2 separate regions of the Homo sapiens genome follow, and region 1 is linked to region 2. Evidence: promoter capture Hi-C in human tissues and cell types (Jung and others, 2019). All regions are on one chromosome and are shown on one strand. Each heading gives the region's core, a stretch centred on a gene start or on the middle of the fragment in contact. The rest is flanking DNA. Distances are from core to core; before and after follow the strand shown. Region 1 holds the start of MMEL1 (membrane metalloendopeptidase like 1). Region 2 overlaps RER1 (retention in endoplasmic reticulum sorting receptor 1).

Region 1 (2,700 bases), core at 173-2,672, 230 kb before region 2:
AGGTCACCAGGTGGCCTTGGGCCAGGCTGGGGGCTGCTGGGCTGGACAGGCCTGGGGTTCGGGAAGGAGGAGCATGCACAGGGCCAGCCTTGGGGAGTCGGTTCAGAGTCCAGGGAGCCCCTGCTGAGAGTAGGCCAGGCCCCTGCATCTGTTTCTCCCTCTGTGGATTTGTACCTTAGAGACAAGAACACTGTGACATCCAGAAAGGGCCTGCTGGCACCAGGGCTGTCGGGCAGGTGGGCTCGGAAAGGCTCTGGCCTCTCCCCATAGCAGGAGCCTCCAGCCAGGCTGGACCCTGGCCCACTCCCAGCTCCCCAGAAAGGGCGGTCCCAGCTTCCTGCTTGGCTGGCCTTGACATTGTTTCCATTTGGGCCAGCAACCCAGGCAGCCTGAGGCCAGACTGCAGCTCCTGGGCTGGTTGCTGGGCGTGATGGCAGGGGGCTGCTAGGACAGCCAGCGGGCCCCAGGGAGAGACTTCCCGGGCTCAGGGTGGTGTCTGGGATCTGATCCCAGCCTGGCTGCAGCTCGAAGCCTTTCTCCTCCCAGGGCCTGGCCAACCTAAAGGGCCATAGACAAAGCTTCCAACAGCACTCAGCGTGGGAGACCTGGCCGGGGCGGCCGTGAGGAGCAGTTTGCCGTGGGACCCCTAGCTCTGTGGCCCAGCCCTGCCCAGATGCCCTGACACATGCCCAAGGCCTGGGCAGGAGGACTCGTTCTGGGGATTCTGAAACAGAAGCTAGAAACCTCATCAGGCCTGGAGAATCAGACAGAGACTGCTCTGCCCAGAACCCCCGTCCGCAAGCAGGGCTGGGTGCAGGGCTCACACTCTGATCACTGCGAACCCTTCAGAAGCCACAGAGCCCTTCTGCCAGCTCCCCGGCCAGGGCTGCCCACCCTCTGTAGCTTGAGGTCTGAACCTCATGAGTTTTCTGTGGGCAGAGGGAAGCAGCCAAACCCAGGCTAGTATCTCTGGGTGGGACCCTCCTGGCAGCCAGCGCCCACCCCCTTCAGGACCACCCCTTCCCCTTGCACCTTGGCAAGATCCCCAGAACCCACCATCCTCCTTGGAGATTGAAGAGAAAGAACACCCAGGGTGGGGCCTTTGTAACCCCCCACCGGGTGGTTAGGGGCAGAGCAGAGGGTGTGGAGTAGGACAAGGGCCTGACCTTCCTCCCAGCAGCCCCTGGGGCCCCTTTGGACTGAAAGGTCAGGAGACAGAAGCAAGGAAGGAGGGCGGCTTGGGAGGCGGGGCCAGAGGCCCTGAGAAGGGCACCCATGAGGCAGGGCAGCCCGGGTGCCAAGAAGCTGCCCTCAGCCCCTCCCCCCATGCCACACCCCCAGTGGAACCTCCTGACTGTGAGCAGGAGTCACCGCCTCCAGGGAGCCCATGCCTGCATCACAAAGGAGGCCCAGAAGCCTTCAGGCAGCCTCAACTCAGCCCCAAGCCACTGCTCTCCCATCCCAGTCCCTGGAAATCCACCCACTTGGCCCAGCTCACCCCAACTCCAACCCACTGGGACCCAGTCTCCAGGGGCCTGACTGTGGGCGGCAGCCACTCCTGAGTGAGCAAAGGTGAGTTGTGCTGAAGGAAGGTACCCGGCCTGCTTTCCTGGGCCTTGAAACCCTCTCCAGGCCCTCTCCTGGGCCTTGAAACCCTCTCCAGGCGCTCAGCCCCTTTCTCAGGAGGCTGGGCAGGGCGTCCTGTGTGCAGTCTCGCCTGTGCCAGGGCAGGCAGCCCCCTCTGGCATACGGTTTATCTTACCCAAAGGACCCGCTGTCCCCCATCTGTAGTAACCTGGAGAGGCCACGAGTGTCCCCAGGGAGCCGCAGTGCCTTCGCCTCAGCAGACACTCCACACCTGCCCCGGGTACTTGGCTCAATTTGAAGGTGTTTATTTTGTGTGTGCCGTGGGGCACATGGAGCCGTCTGTGGATACCTGCAGGACAGAATGAATTCAGGACGCAGGAGCAGATTCATTAATTCTGACCAAAGAAAGAAGTTCGTGGAAGCTGAGCTCAGACTTGTCCAAATGATTGATCCATTCATTCATCATTCATTCATTCATTCACCCAACAGATAATGACCGAGGTCTCTGGGGTGGGGGTGCCAGTCTAGGTGAAGCGGCCCCCACAGAGGGTGCCCCTGCCCGTGGAGCTGACGTTCCCAGGGGGCTGCAGAAGTATCGAGGAGATGTGGAGGTGGAGCTGGGAGTCCCTGGAGAGACACAGAGCAGGGGAGGGGCTGGGGCTCCCCGAGTTGAACCCGAGGCCGAGCCAAGGAAGGCCCCACTGGGAAGGGGAGCTTGGCAGGAATCTGGGAGGCCTGCCTGGGTGGGTGGGGAGGGTGGGGGGAGAAACCTGGTGGGCCTGCCTGAGGGTAAGGGGAGGGCATAGTGAGAGGGGAGGAGGGCCAAAGAGGGTCCTGACATCAGGGCAAGGCCCGGCTCTTCCTCCAAGGGTTTGGCTACCAGGGGCCAGGGAGTGACGGCCTCTGATTCTAGTTACAGGCCCCTGGGCCCCTGTGGTGGGGATCAGTGGGTGAGACAGACCCCTCAGGGGGAGGTGATTGGTGGGGCCTGGAACAGGCAGCGAGTGGCAGGAATGAGAAAGGGTCCGACTGAGATGGGCTTGGAGGCTGAGGACTGGCGCGGGGTGTGGACGCAGGCAAGGGAGGCAGATGGCTCCAAAGTCCAGCTTCAGC
Region 2 (2,700 bases), core at 31-2,530:
TTCCAATAGTGGAGCACGAAGCACCAGGAACACTTCAGCTCACAGCTCCTCAGAAACCAGAGAAGGCCGCCCAAAGCCTGACCCGACCCGATGCTGGCATTAGAGTCCCGGCGGTCTCTGTGCACCACAGTGAGCTGCCTGTGGAACCCTCTGGCTACGGGAAAAGGTAACCTCGTCATGGCTGCCTCCGCTGATTCTGAGAGGGACCACTGACTGGGGTGGGACGGGGGCTGGAGTCGGACTGTCCACCTCAGACCCCTACTGTCTGTGGTGCCATGTGACCTCGAACACGTTACCTAACCCTGTATGCCTCAGTTTCCTCATCTGCAAAGTGGGAAAACAGAATGAACACCCACTTCGTGGCTGTCAGGAGGGTTTGAAGAGTCATTCTACAAACATATCCTGATCACCCAACATTACAAGTACATTTCAACCCCAAGAGAAGAGTCTCGGGTGTTTCCAGAGAACACTGGGCAATCCCATCAGAAAAGAAAGGCCCAACCTGCCCACACAGCCCAGTGCACAGCCGCTACCCTACCTGAGTCTTCCATTAAGGAAGGATCCACTTTGGGAGAAAGAAAAGCTATGAAAAGATTTAGATGGTAGATCCCCAAGGCATAGGTCACAATGTACCAACCCTGAAAGAGAAGGAAAGAGAGTCAGTGGTGCACTCTGACCGTCCATCAGCCTGAGCCAGTTCACGTTTGCACTCCGGTTCACTCTCAACTTTGTTAACTGATCTAACTTTGTTTTAACACAAAACTTACTCATAGCAAGGACAAGGAAATACAGTGAAATCCCATGGTAACAATTTATCTCAAATTATACTCTGTGGGAACAGAGACAAAGCGGACAAGCAAGGGCCCAAATGAGCAAAGCTCTTCAAGGGTCCAGTTAGACACATGTGATCCCTGAAGCCACAGACGCCCCACAAGGAGCGCAGCAGAAAAGGAGGCTTTTCTCAAGAAGCACATGCTCAAGCTACACCACAGGCTCGGGTGGCCCGGGCACCTGAGCGATGCTGGCCCAGAGCCCCACCCAGGAGCAGCTTCATCAGAAACAGAAGACAGACTCTCAACTGTGACTGGAGGCGTGCTGGCTGATGTTCCTCCAACAGACAATTCACATTGCCAAAAACACTCTGCCAGGAGGGTTAAACCTTTGCCCAGAAGAAATCCACAACTGGGAAATCCAGAAAAGTGTGCTTATGCCAAGCCTTCCTCAAGAGATGAAAAGTGGGGAGAATTTTGGCAAGATGCCTGAGTGCAGCACACTTATTTGCAACTAATTCATTTTTTAAAATGATTAAGCATATCCCGTTAAAAGCCAGAACCGCATTCTCAATTTCAAAAGCCTTAAATTTCTGTCGGGTGTGGTGGCTCACGCCTGCAATCCCAGCACTTTGGGAGGCCAAGGCGGGTGGATCACCTGAGGTCAGGAGTTCAAGACCAGCCTGGCCAACATGGTGAAACCTCGTCTCTACTAAAAATACAAAAATTAGCCAGGCATGGTGGCACATGCCTGTGATCCCAGCTGCTCGGGAAGCTGAAGTAAGAGAATCACTTGAACCCAGGAGGTGGAGGTTGCAGTGAGCCAAGATCAGGCCACTGCACTCCAGCCTGGGCGACAGAGTGAGACCCCATCTCAAAACAATAAATAAAAATATAAATGCTTTAACTTTCTTATACAAACAAGAAGTCTTTCTGCCTAAAAGCTTTTCCAGTCAGACGGCTGAACGCCAGATGTGAGGGCTAACTGATGTCTGTGTGTCCATCCCTGGCTGAACGCCGGATGTGAGGGCTAACTGATGTCTGTGTGTCCATCCTCGGCTGAACGCCGGATGTGAGGGCTAACTGATGTCTGTGTGTCCATCCTCGGCTGCAGGGCCACACCTGAAGAGACGCCAAATGAGGCACGAGCTTGGTTTCGAACGCAATAAAACTGACCTGTGGGTGCTGCACTCTTCCCGCCCCCTGCTCCTGCCTGAAGTCCCTGATTCAAGATTTCTAGGTCATTCTTTCCATCAGAGAATGGACCCAGTTCCAATTTAAAAACAAAAATAAATAAATAAATTAAGGTGTGTGCTTTAAACAAGGAAGTATCTTCTACAGTCCCCAGAGGAGAAAATAGCCCAGACAAGGCTTTCAACATGCCCTGCTCTGCACATAAGATTATGTAACCTCCTCTAAAGACCGACGAAGAATTCCCATCTTACAGGTTTGCTCCTAGAAACCCCGTGTTTACCAGCAAGTAAAGGAGCACCCAGGTGAAGTCTGAGACGACATCACCTGACCTAGGGGTGCCCGAAAACACACGAAGGAAACCCTCAAGACCCCCTTCGGTCACTGTCTCTCTTACTTGACTCGGCGTCTCAACCTGCACTGTGCTTTGGCCTCACACAAGGGAGAGCTCAGGAAAAGCTACATAAACCCTTTGGACGCCGAGTCATTCATGACACCCAAGGCATGGACTCTTCACCCAAGGAATGAGGCAGCCACAGAGCGCAACCTTGTCCTGAGCATCATGCAGCAGGGTCGGAGGGACACCAGCGGCTCCACTGTCCAGGCCTGGACGTGCCCAGGGCAGGGCCAGGCTGGGCTCAGGACGGCCTGGGTATACTGAGAAGCCTGGCGAGGCGACTCCGGGTGAATCATAAACAACCCTGTTCGTTAAAGACAGTCACTGAGATCTTTCTGACAT

What was found. Contacts are between HindIII fragments. The study calls those that stand out against the background at their distance.
Region 1: the fragment with the promoter of MMEL1 here is called in contact with a fragment that was not itself captured in region 2 in 2 of the 25 tissues and cell types used here (dorsolateral prefrontal cortex and lymphoblastoid cells).

The regions. Positions count from the first base shown.
Region 1 is chr1:2,631,738-2,634,437 of GRCh38, reverse strand. MMEL1 (membrane metalloendopeptidase like 1) reads left to right here and starts at 1,422. Exons shown (of 24, transcript NM_033467.4): 1 at 1,422-1,572. MMEL1-AS1 (MMEL1 antisense RNA 1) reads right to left here. Exons shown (of 3, transcript NR_183343.1): 2 at 1,763-1,936. The HindIII fragment of the contact is 11,446 bases long and covers 1-2,700 here.
Region 2 is chr1:2,397,353-2,400,052 of GRCh38, reverse strand. It overlaps RER1 (retention in endoplasmic reticulum sorting receptor 1), which reads right to left. Exons shown (of 7, transcript NM_007033.5): 4 at 539-638. Among named protein-coding and RNA genes, the nearest start is that of RER1, 6.9 kb to the right of the region's middle. The HindIII fragment of the contact is 8,492 bases long and covers 1-2,700 here.